Linked DNA regions of Homo sapiens: region 2 is linked to region 1. The links are contacts of gene promoters, found by promoter capture Hi-C in blood cells and fetal thymus (Javierre and others, 2016). All regions are on one chromosome and are shown on one strand. The core of a region is centred on a gene start or on the middle of the fragment in contact, and the rest is flanking DNA. Distances in the headings are between cores, read along the strand shown.

Region 1 (5,426 bases), core at 2,927-5,426:
TGAGCTTTTCTCTAATTCTCACTTGGAAAAAAAGCAGAAACACTGCTTCTTCCCATCTTGATTAACAGTGCTCTACTTAAAAAAGAAAACGAACATATTTCCAAATGTCCACATCTAAAGATGGAGAGCAAGAAAACAGAGCTGGATTCATTCAGGATGTTGCTGCTATCTGAAGGACTGATGTCGAATTCAGGAACCCAGTGAGGAGAGAAAGGAAGAGGGATCACCAGGGCCTTCTTCAGGGTGATGATGTGTTCCCAAGGCCACCTGGAGAGAGGCCTGGGGCAGCAAAAAATCAGCACACTTGCCTGCCTCACCAGGCTGCTGTCTGGTATCATCTCTTCCGTTCATTTCTGAGGTATTTTCTGAGGCCCTCACACTCTGAGGAAGCCCAGATGCCTGAGATGTCACAAAGCCATGCTGTACTTCAGAAGAGATGTCACAGAGAAGGACACCCCTCAGGAGTCATGGCCAAAGGTCATGTCCCATGTGCCTAGCTGGGAGGGACAGGTCCCCTAATGCCAAATATCTGGCTGCTACTCCACTTTGCAGACAGAAAACTCAGCTTTGTCTGCTCTCTCAGACCTCTGTCAACCTAGGAAAAGTGACACACACTGAACAAACACCACATGAGCTGTGTGTTTAAGTCATGTGGTTGCCTTTTGAAGGAGAGGGAGCTGGATAGAAAACTGGATTGAGCCAGACAACTACCCAGGGTACTCCCTCTACAACCAGATCAAGCCATTGATGAGAAGAATGTTAGGTGAACACAGAACCCAACGGGTAGTGCTGGGTCCACTCTGGGAGGCCTTCTGTTCAGCCGCGTGACCTGAGGGACAGAACGTAGCTCCTCTATAACCAAGGAACCTGGCAAACTATCCAAGAGGAGTGTCTTAGCACCCAGAACCCTACCTCAACCCCTTGCAGTGGTGGTCCTTATTGTAGGCCCCAGCTCTAATACCACTGATGGTTCCCTTTCATTCCCAAGGCCCTGCCCAGCTTACCTCCATTGACAGATCATCTTCCCAAGGTTAGGTTCCAGGTAACCCAGCTCATTTCTTGTGCACTTACTGGCCAGTTTTGATGTCAAATAGACGACGATGTCTTCTTTGATCTCCCCTCCTATTCTCAAGACCCCTCTTCCTGCTGGTCACATGCAGTATGTGATTAAGGTTGATGGAGGGATGAAGACCATAATGCTGTAAGGTCAGAGAGGGACTGGTCACTGAGGTAAAAGCAGGGGATCTGGAGAGAGAAGACTAAAGGCTAGGCCCAGGCTCTGTACCTGACCACCTATGCAGCGTCTGACAAGTCACCCAATTCTTCTGTGCTTCAGTTTTCACACACGTAAAATGAGGCTGGTAGTGCTGTACCTTCAGGCAGATGTATTTTGTAAATTGCCAAGTGCTCTGAAAATGTTGGTTGTTATCCTTGTGGACTGAAGTGTTCTGGGAAGAAGCAGAATATAAAGTTGGCCTTAAAGGTTGAGGAAGATTCAGGACATGTGGTCAGGAAGAGGATGGGCACTCCGGGATGGGAAACAGCATGAGCAAAGGCAAAAATGCAAATGGGATATACCAGGCACGGCTGCAGTAGAAAGCTTGTGTAAGGGAGAGGCTGGGGTAAGGCTGGAAAGGCAAGTGGGCTATATTCTGTTGGTCATAAGGAGCTACCGAACTTTTTGATCAAGTAAAAGAATGAAAGTCATGTTTTCGGAATACTAACGTGGTGGAGGTGTGAAGGATACAGAAATTGGAGGAGGGTTAGAATGCAGGCAGAGTGAACAAAGGAAGGTGTTGTAAACTCCAGTTAAGAGATATGATGGGGGCCTGAATGAAGGCAGGGCACTAAGGCTTAAACAGAGGAAGCACATTGGGGAGATACAGAAACAAAAGGATAGGGTGACAGTGTAGTAGAAGAAGAGAAGGCTTGGGGACAATTTTCATTATCTAGGTGGACAATGGTGCCACTCACCAAGACAGAGAATAAAGGAGAAGGCACCAGTGAGCAGTGCAGATTGAGTTCTTTGGATATGTTTACTTTGTCTGTAGAATGTCCAAGGAATACTAACCAGTAATTAAGTGACCATATGGGTGTGGAGCTCAGCAATAAGGATGTGAATTGAAGCCACCCAAGAAGACCATGTACTGTGAAAAGATAAGGACAAGGACAGAAGGCTGAGGAACATCAACATTCAAATGGTGGACAACGCTGGATGGAAGAACCTGAAAAGAAGACTGAAAAGTGACCAAAGAGTAGGAGGAAGGCAAGACTTTTTCTAGAAAAAGACGCCAACAGATTAAAGTACAACAGAAAGAACAAGTGATATGAAGAATAGGAAGAGTCCAATTTGGCAATTCGTTCATTAATGACATTAGTAAGAGCAATTTCACTGAAGTCACAGGCTGTGAGCTAGACCGCAGTGAACAATGGATGGGAAGGTGCAAATGGGCAGGATTTGTAGACTACTCTTTTGGGGAGCTTGGCTGTAAGGGCAAGGACATGGGAGAATTTTGGAATTTTTTTTTTTTTTTTTGAGACGGAGTCTCGTTCTGTCGCCCAGGCTGCAGTGCAGTGGCGCGATCTCGGTTCACTACAAGCTCCGCCTCCCGGGTTCACGCCATTCTCCTGCCTCAGCCTCCCGAGTAGCTGGGACTACAGGCGCCCACCACCACGCCCATCTAATTTTTTGTATTTTTAGTAGAGACGGGGTTTCACCGTGTTAGCCAGGATGGTCTCGATCTCCTGACCTCGTGATCCGCCCGCCTCGGCCTTCCAAAGTGCTGGGATTACAGAAGTAAGCCACCACGCCCGGCCAGAATTTTGGATATTTTAGCTAAAATATATTTTAGCTGAAGGGGGCAAGACAAAGAAAAATAAATAAATACACGCTCACACATACACACAGAGAATAACTGAGGGGATGGGATTTTAAAAATTTATTTCATTTTTCCCATGGGATCTATTAATAGACTAGCGAGGGGATGGGATCTTGAACACTGGTTGAAGGAACCGACTTAAGAGCGAAGACATGCTGCTATTAGCGAAGACAGGGAGGTGAGGGTAAGTTCATTTATTCACTCAACAATCACTAGTTGAGTGTGGATTAAAAAAAACAGTCCTTGACCACATAAGGAATTAGGTCTAGTAGGGAAGACAAACGTAGGTCAATAAATTACATAAGGGTTATACTAGATTGTGTGGTGGTACAGGTGGGGAAGCGAGCAACTGTCTGCATTGTGTCCAGGAAAGGGTCACAGGCGTGTTATGTAGATTCTGGAGAAAATTCAAAAATAGCATTTATTTTTACTTATTTACTTTTGTATGTGGAGACGAGGGTCTCACTATGTTGCCCAGGCTGGTGTTGAACTACTCGCCTCAAGAAATCCTCCCGCCTCGACCTCCCAAAGTGTTGGGACTACAGGTGTGAGCCACCGCGCCTGGCCTAAATGTGGCATTTAGAAAAAGTATTTACAACATCTGCATTAAAAGGACCATAAAGCAACCAGGCATCTAAGTCCCTGAAGCAATTTAAGTTGCTCAAACTTGAGAGGACAACCAAATGATAGCAAAAGGGCAAAAGAGAAAGGAAGCTGCAGTGCCCACTCAGAAGTGTGAGAGCGGGAGAAGGCATTTCGGGAGCCGCCCGAGCTTCAGGAAACCGAGCGAGACACCAGGTGGGCACACTGAGGATTAAAGAGGGCCTCGCGGTTCCGCACTGCGGCCGGGAGACAAACCAGTAGCCACTATCACCAGCCCCGGGCAGACCACTAAGAACTGTGGAGGTGCGCGGGGCGGCTCAGGGCTGGCGCATTTGGTGAGGAGCTCAGACAACGAGGCCCTTAGGGTCGGCTTAGGCGGTTCCCTGACCAAGGCGCCAGAAAAGGGCCTGGCTCAAGCAAGCACGGGCGGCGTGCAGTACAGCACACCTAGCCCCGATTCTTCAACAGTTCTCGCCCTCCGAGCCTAGCACAACGAGCCTCACCGAAACCGTACACCGCCACCAGGACACTCCGTGATGGGGGATCACCACCCTCAGAAAGAGGAAGCGACTAGCAGGCGCGCAATCCCGCGAGACCAGGAGGCCCCGCCCGAAGCCCGGCCTCTGTGACCGGAAGTGAGGCGTTTTGCCCCGCCCCCGTGGCCGATACCTCGCGAGACTTGGCGAAGGCCTTCCTTTTTCGTCTGGGCTGCCAACATGGTAGGTGTTTCGTTTCTTGCCTCCTCTTCCTTGCCGGCGGAGACCCCTAAGCTGTATTCCCATTGCCCCTAGTCATCCACTCCCTACCATGGTCGGGGCTTCCAGGCTGCGCATGGCCGCCTGCGGGGCAGGGTGGCCGGCGCGGGCCCGGGGCGGGGCTCCCGGAGCCGTGTGTTAGGCCCGCGGTTCGGATCTCTAGGACACGCGGGCCCCTGCGCTACCGTGGTGAGACCTCACGGCCCTGAGCGGATCGGTACCCTCAGCTTTCCCAAACGCTCCAGAAGTTAGGTCTTTGACCCACAGGCTTACAGGACCATCTCGGCTGGCGGGCATCGCCCCCTGCCCCTAATTCCTTAGGCCTTACCACCAAGCTTTTTCCACACAGCCATCCAGACTGAGGAAGACCCGGAAACTTAGGGGCCACGTGAGCCACGGCCACGGCCGCATAGGTAAGTGCCGGCTTCCCCTCGGGGTGGGCCTTGGGCTCTCTTCGGGTGCTTAGCTAGTCTGGAGATCGGTAGCCTATAAGTGGGTTAGAATAAGACCTTTTTGTGGTCAAGTTGCACAGCTGTTGATTTTTTTCTGACGATCCTCTAGTATTCCAGTTCTAAGGAATTTCACATCAGTGGGGTAATAGGAATTGAGCAGGCACGGTATTGGGTTAGTTGAAGACATGGAGTACTGTGGGAATGCTGTGATGTGGAACCTGAAAAGATGTTTCACCCGGAATCCTAAAGTAATCGCATTGCTGAAAACCGGCATCGGTAGGGTGGGAACAGCGTAAGCGGGACACAGAAGTCTGGGAAACACTCTGCTTTTGTGCGAGGAAGTATTGAGATGCATGAGAAGGCTGTGTGGTGCATGTAGCTTTTTTGTGTGTGTGTGAGACTGATCACTGTCGCCCAGGCTGGAGTGCAGTGGCGAAATCTCGGCTCACTGCAACCCCTGCCTGCCGGGCTCAAGCGATTCTCCTGCCTCAGCCTCCCGAGTAGCTGATATTACAGGTGTGCGCCACGACGCCCGGCTAATTCTTTTTCTATTTTTAGTAGAGTCGGGGGTTTCTCCGTGTTGGCCAGGCTGGTCTCGAACTCCTGACCTCAGGTGATCTACCCCCCCTCGTCCTCCTAAAATGCTGGGATTACAGGCATGAGCCATCACACCGGCCCCACGTAGCTTTGTATTCCTGCAGGCAAGCACCGGAAGCACCCCGGCGGCCGCGGTAATG
Region 2 (7,362 bases), core at 4,863-7,362, about 35 Mb after region 1:
TTCTGGGAATGAGGACAGGTGTTCTTGGGCAGACCTGCCAGCTGGGTCTTGGGCTCAGTTCTGTTCCTCTGCCCTCCCTAGTACCTGGATCCCTGTACATTTGAAGAAGAACGGCTCCTCTATTGCCGCTTCCTGGACAACAAGCTATTGTTATCCCGTGGCAAAACCTACATGTGTAAGGAGCCAGGCTGGTTCTGCCTCATCTTTGCAGATGAGCTCCCCCGGCTAAAATTGGGTGAGTGGAGCTGACCTCCCAATCCTTTAAAGACGCCCCATCAATTTAATATGTCAATCTTCTCCCCCACCCCCCTTAAACATCCTATAGATCTAGCCCTTTATTCCCTGTTTCCATGTCTATCTTTAGTTAGGTGCTCTTGCAAACAAGAACTGATATGTACCTCAAGCACCTATCCATTCATTACCCATTTGGGGTATCTGTTCTGTGACTGCCATTGAGTGAGGCATTGGGACCACAAGCTAAAAAGTAGTACTCTGAGGCCAGGTGCGGTGTCTTATGCCTGTAATCCCAGCACTTTGGGAGGCCGAGGTGGGTGGATCATGAGGTCAGGAGTTCCAGACCAGCCTGGCCAGCATGGTAAAACCCTGTCTCTACTAAAAATACAAAAAATTAGCCACGCATGGTGGCGCACGCCTGTAATCCCAGCTACTCGGGGGGCTGAGGCAGGAGAATTGCTTGAACCTGGGAGGTGGAGGTTGCAGTGAGCTGAGATTGCGCCACTGCACTCCAGCCTGGGCGACAGAGTGAGACTGTTTCAAGAAAACAAAAACAAACAAACAAAACCCGAAAAAAGTAGTACTCTGCCCTTGTGGGACTGGCAGCCTAGTAAGTGAGATGGATAGGCAGATGACCATGGAAGTCCCTGTATGCCATACTAGAGAGTTTAGATTCTCCTCTGAGGTTATAGAGAATAGGACATTCATGTGAACATTTATTTATTGCATTCCACTACATGCCAGATGCTGTTCTACCTGCTGGGAATATAGCAGTGAATTGTTCATTCTCATGAAGGTTTTTGTTACAGAATTCTTTTGAGCTAGCATAGAAGATAGGCTGAGTGAAGAGACACTAGAGGCAAATAGAAATCCTGATTAGGCCAAGGCCATAAGCCCGAGAGTACAGGCTTTGATACAAGACATTGAGATGTCTCGCAGGCTGACATAACAATGATATTCAAAAAGAAATCAGGGATGCAACATGTAGACTTGGAAATCCATCCCAAAGGTGGGAGGGCTGAAGTTCAGGATCCCTGAATGAGAGGCTTTTATGGTTGACCATGACCTGGGTATGTCTGGGACCCACCAGCAAACCTACTAAATCACTATTTCTCTCTGTCCCCATTTGAACCCTCTAGCTATGCGTCGGTTCTGTGATGTGCTGCAGGAGCAGAAGGAGGCTTTGATAGTGAAGCAGTTGGAGGATGCAATGAGGGAGTAGGCCGTCTGCCTCCCAACCAGCAGTTCCAGCCCATCACTTGCTCAGGGACCCCCTAATGTCAGCCTCTGGCCCAGAAGGCCAGGGTGTCTTTTTGTCAGTGTTGCGATGGAGAAAATGGTGGGCTCCTCCAGGAAGATCTCATCTTACCCGGTTGTCACCCTCCTTAAGCTGAGTGCCTGCTGTCTTTGGAAGCTTTCCATCTTTTTAGTCTTTGCTAGCCATTATATATGCAAAATGTTTTTATCGGGGTTGGGGTGGAAAGGCCTAGAGACACCTAGAGAAATAAAGGGAGTTCTCTGGGCCCCTATTTAGATGGTTTATTTTTATATTCAGTACCTAATAAATTCTATACTTTTAAATTCTAGGCCCATCTTATTTTCTTGCTTATATTCTTCATAATCATCTTTGGAAGCCAGATGATTTTCTGTCCTCCTTAATTTTTAAATTCTAAGGCAGGTTCTATGTAAAGAATACTGTCTAGAGCAGGCCAGAAAAAGAAAGAAGTCATCCTTAACTGATGGGCCATTTTCCAGGTGTTGGATGCAATGTTCTATAAGATTCTTATGAAATCACATCCACTTCCACATGACCTGCTAAGAGGCAGGTGGGAGTATAATTGCAGGTATTCCTGCTTCCAAATACTAGAGTTTGTTCCACTTTTACCTTCCCAAAAGGCTTTTAAAGTCTCTTGCTGGGTACGGTGGCTCATGCCTGTAATCCCAGCACTTTGGGAGGCTGAGGCCAGAGAATGGCTTGAGGCCAGGTGTTTGAGACCAGCCTGAGCAACCGAGACCCTGTCTCTACAAAAAATAAAATTAGCTGGGTGTGGTGATGTGTGCCTCTAGTCCCAGCTATTCAGGAGGCTGAGGTGGGAGGCTCGCTTAAATCTAGGAGACCAAGCCTGCAGTGAACCATATCGTGCCACTGCATTCCAGCCTGGTTATAGAGTAAGACCCTGTCTCTACAAAAAAGAAAAAAAAATCTGACAAGCTTGGTGTCTTAGTCCCTTCATAATATGAAAATATCACAAAGTGGATGGCTTAGAAACAAATCTTTCTCACAGTTCTGGAGGCTGGAAAGGCCGAGTTCAAGGCCCTGGGAGATTTGGCATCTGGTGAGGGTCCCATCTTCCCAGTGTCATCTCATGTGGCAGAAGAGGTGAGAGGTCTTCCTCTGCCTTCATGACCCAATCACTTTTCAAAGGGCTCACCTTCTAATACCATCACCTTGGGGGTTAGGATTTCAAATATGAATGTTGGGGGGACACATTCAGTTCGTAGCATCTGGGGTTGTCCATTTCCATTTCTAATGTTTTCAGCTGTTCAAATTAAGCCACCCATCAGTTTCTCTGCAAAGCCCTTGCATGTCAGAGCACTGATACTGTGAAGTGGGCAGAGAAGGGACTACTACGATTTTATGGATGAAGAAAGAGCTCACAGTACCAACTGGTGGCTTTAGTCGCTTGGGTTTGTGGCCGTACTTGCTCCGAATCCAAATTTGTTTATTCTTGTCAGTTTTCTTGTGTGTGTGTGTGTATGTGTGTGTTTTTGTTGTTGTTGTTGTTGTTGTTGTGAGACTGAGTCTCACTCTGTCGCCCAGGTTGGAGTGCAGTGTCACAATCTCGGCTCACTGCAACCTCTGCTGCTGGTTCAGCGATTCTCCTGCCTCTGCCTCCCAAGCAGCTGGGACTACAGGCACGTGCCACCTCGCCCAGCTAATTTTTATATCTTTAGTAGAGACAGGGTTTTACCATGTTGGCCAGGCTTGTCTCAAACGCCTGACCTCAAGTGATCCGCCTGCCTCGGCCTCCCAAAGTGCTGGGATTACAAGCTGAGCCACCGCTCCTGACCGATATAGCTCTTTTTAAAAAACCTCTAGTATAACGTTGAATAAAAGTGGTTGAGAGGACAGCCTGCCTTGTTCTCAGTCTTAGTAGCATTGAGTGCAATCTTCTGCTCTTGAGTATAACGTTACTGTATTTTTCATTCTGTCCCTTATCTAATAAAGAGTCCTTCTATTACTAGTTTGCTGGGAGTTTTACCATGTATGAGGGTTCAATGTTGTTAGATGTTTTTCATCTGCATTTATAGAGATATGATTTTTCTCTTGATTATCAATGTAGTAAGTTACATTGATTTCTTAATGTTAAAGCAACTTCACATTGCTGCAATAAACCCCATTTGGTCATGATGCATTGTCCTTTTATATACCATTGAGTTTGGTTTGCTATTTTAAGAAGTTTACATTCAAGAAGGACATCATTCTATAATTTTTTTTTTTGTAATGCATTGTTAGTTTCAGTATCATGATTAATACTGGTTTCATAGATGTTTGGGAAACTGTTCCTTCCTGAATTTTCTAGAAGTTTGTGTCCAAAAACTTCTTCAACCTTTAAATATTTGGTTGAATTCAGCTGTAAAACCATAAGGGCCTGGAGGTTTTTTTTTTCTTCTTTTTTTTTTTTTGTGGGACGGCTTTTACTTATAAATTCAATTTCTGTGACAGTTCGAGTTTTCTATTTCTTGTATCAGATTTGGTTATTTGTGCCTTTCAATAAAGTTTGTCTATTTCATCTAAGTTTAATTATTGACTTAAAATTGGTTATAAATATTCTGTTATCCTTTTAATACATTTAGGATCTTTAGTTGTATCTCCTTTTCCTTTCCTGATACTGAAATTGATACATGCAGGAGGGGGATTACGGGGAGGGTCTCCGGAGAATCTCCAACCCATCTGTGCACTGGGAGAACAAGATGGAGCCAAGGGAAGCTGTGGCCATGCTCAGCGGGGAGGAGCCTGGCCTCTTCAATTTCTGTGTGGTGGCCTGGGATTCAATGTGAGTTTGGAGGCCTGTTAGCAGGACCCCCTCTTGCTCTGCTGACAGTATTTTTCTTTTTTCCTTTTTGCCCAGTAAATTCCGTTCCCCTCACCCTTCAATGTGTCCATGTTCCTAATCCTTCCTGGTGGTGTGACAAGAACCCGGTTTTAGCTGAACTAAGGAGCAAAATTCTGCAACAAAATGAGTTTTTTTGATCAGTCAATCTAACTGTTTATCAACTGTATTGAACTTTTCAAAGAACCAACTTTCAGTTTCATTGATTTTTCTCGTTTCGCCTTCATTTCTGCTCTTATCTTTATTTCTTTCTATTTACTTTGGGTTTAATTTGCTCTTTTTTCTAGCTTATTAATGTGGAAGCTTAGATCATTTGTTTTAAGTTGGTTTCAAATATATGCATTACAAGCTATTCATTTCTCACTTAGCATTATTTTAGCTACATTCCATAAACTTTGATCTGCTGGTTTTTAATCATTCAAAATATTTTCTAATTTCCCTTGTGATTTCTTTTTTTAAATCAATGGTTTGCTTAGCATATGTAACTTAGTTTCCAAATATTTGGGGACTGTTCAGCTTTCTTTGTTAATGATTTCTACTTTAATTTCATTGTGACTAGAGAATGTACTCTATGGTTTCAATCCTTTGAAACTTATTAAGACAGTTTATGGCCAGATTTGTTTACAACATGTGGTCTATCTTAATGTTTCATTTGCACTTGAAAAGAAGTATATTCTGTGGTATTGGGGATGGTGTTCTATAAATGTCAATTAGATTAAATTTTTGTATAATGTCCAAAAGTTCTGATCCTTAGTGTCTTTTGATCCATTTGTTCTATCACCGAGAGAGTGGTATAAAATTTTCCAATTATTATGAACTTGTCTTTTCTCTTTTTCGTTCTGTCAGTTTCTGCTTCATGTATTTTGAAGCTTTGTTATTACGAGCATAAACTTTTAAGATTGTCACCCTGATAAATTAATCATTTTATTCTAAAATGCCCCATTTTATTTTTGTTAATTATTTTTGTCTTGAAGCCTACTATCAGATACCAATATGAACACATCAGCTTTTTTCATGATTATTATTTGCTTGTTTTTTTTCACATTTTTACCTTTGACCATTTGTTTTTGTATTTAAAGTGTGTCTCCTGCACACACCATATGCTTGATTCTTGCTGTTTTATCCAGTCTGATGATCTTTTAATTGATCTTTAGTCAATTCACATTTAATGTAACGTGTGTGTATGTCTTCCACTTAGGACAAGTGCCTGTGTTTGTTGTTTCGTGGGGTTAAATCCCCCTGCTGCATGTTTCCATGGTACCCAGTAAATAGTCTTTTTAAAATAGTCCCCACATTGTAAGTCGGCCTTCCCAATCAATCATGCAGGCTTTGGTTTGTCTTGCTCATCACCGTATCCTCGCATTTTACAGAGACCTGGCACATAACAGGCATTCACTGAGATGTGAATTACATAGAATTAAGATTTAAATAGAGGAAAATAATCGCTTCCTTATCTTACAGAAGAAAACAGTAAGGGCCAAAAAAGTCATGAGAGTTGCTCAAGGTCACAGTGTTAGCTAGTGCAAGGCAAAAGTGAAGACAAGAAGTGGAATGGCCAGAAGACAGCCATGTCTTCCCAGCCATACCTGTATTGAGAGATTCTGCTTATTTCCTTTCATGGGGAAAGAAGACTTTCCCATTCAAGGCACCTCAGAGACTGCAGCTCTACCTGGGACCTGGGTGCCCACTGTACCCATTGCCAGAATATGTAGAGCTTAGGGCAGAGTTTGAAAAATACTTTTGAAATTATATGTGTGTGTGTGTGTGTGTGTGTGTGTGTGTGTGTGTATGTAATTTTTTTTTTTTTTTTTTTTTTTTTTTAGATAGAGTCTCGCAAACACCCAGGTGGGAGTGCAGTGGCACGATCAAATTCACTGCAGCCTCTACCTTCTGGGCTCAAGTGATCCTCCCACCTCAGCCTCCCAAGTAGCTGAAACCACAGGCACATGTCATCAAGTCTGGCTAATTTACAAAAACATTTTGGCTGAGTGCAGTGGCTCACGCCTGCCATCCCAGCACTTGGGAGGCCGAGGCGGGCAGATCACGAGGTCAGGAGTTCAAGACCAGTCGGGACAATATGGTGAAACTCCATCTCTACTAAAAATACAAAAATTAGCCAGGCGTGGTGGTGCGTGCCTGTAGTCCCAGCTACTGGGGAGGCTGAGACAAAAGAATTGCTTGAACCCGGGAGGCGGAGGTTGCAGTGAGCAGAGATTGTGCCACTGCACTCCAGCCTGGATGACAGAGCGAGACTCCGTCTCAAAAAAACAAAAAAACATAAAAACCTTTTTTTGGTAGAGACACGGTCTCTCTATGTTGCCCAGGCTGGTTTCAAACTCCTGGGTTCAAGGGATGCTCCCACCTTGTCCTCTCAAAGTGTTGGCATTACAGGCGTGGGCCGCCACACCTAGCCAGAGTTCAACAAATATTGCAGGCACGTGTGGGAGACCAGGACATGCCTCCCCAAAACATGAAGGATTGTGCTAAAGACAAGCAGCAGCACATTCAGGAAAGCTCTCTACCCTGGCCCTATTTGCCTAAAAGTAGGACACAGGTTTACAAAGACAAAAGGTATCCTGTCCCTCTGTCTACCTAGGAGAACAAAGACAACTTTAGACCCCTATGGCCTGGAGATGGTACCAGAGGAATTTACATTAACAAGCTTGACTAACTGGCCTTTGTCTTTTTTTTTTTTTTTTTTTTTTGCCTTCTCACAAGTTGCCTCCTGGAGAGACTCAAAGCCCTATTTCTTTGTCTTGTAACTTAAAAAAATTACTGTTCTTTGTTGAAGATGCTATAAAAACTGGAATTCAAAGTCACCTCTTCCAGAACGACTCATTCCCTCCAGATTTCTCATGTATAAATGAAATACACATGTCAGTAAATTTCTGTCTGTTTTTCTCTTGTTAATTTGTCTTTTGTAACAGGAGTCTCCCCCAACTAAGAACCTATGAGGGCTACAGAAAATCCCCTACAAATGAAAGGGGCAGAAATGACAAACTGCGATGAAAGG

Evidence for each region. Contacts are between HindIII fragments. The CHiCAGO score rates a contact against its expected background, and 5 or more counts as called.
Region 2: a fragment that was not itself captured here is called in contact with the fragment with the promoter of RPL27A in region 1 in 1 of 17 cell types (fetal thymus); the score reaches 9.1 in fetal thymus.

Annotation. Positions count from the first base shown.
Region 1 is chr11:8,678,616-8,684,041 of GRCh38, forward strand. RPL27A (ribosomal protein L27a) reads left to right here and starts at 4,177. Exons shown (of 5, transcript NM_000990.5): 1 at 4,177-4,201; 2 at 4,587-4,650; 3 at 5,391-5,426. The coding sequence starts at 4,199. It overlaps TRIM66 (tripartite motif containing 66), which reads right to left and starts at 4,050. Exons shown (of 25, transcript NM_001388022.1): 1 at 3,986-4,050; 2 at 1,286-1,448; 3 at 1,005-1,199. RefSeq lists enhancers at 3,607-4,806, 3,670-3,739, 3,940-4,129, 4,456-5,098 and a silencer at 4,250-4,449. The HindIII fragment of the contact is 2,972 bases long and covers 1,599-4,570 here.
Region 2 is chr11:44,058,465-44,065,826 of GRCh38, forward strand. It overlaps ACCSL (1-aminocyclopropane-1-carboxylate synthase homolog (inactive) like), which reads left to right. Exons shown (of 14, transcript NM_001031854.2): 13 at 82-235; 14 at 1,374-1,513. The coding sequence ends at 1,456. Among named protein-coding and RNA genes, the nearest start is that of ACCS, 4.1 kb to the right of the region's middle. The HindIII fragment of the contact is 1,793 bases long and covers 5,217-7,009 here.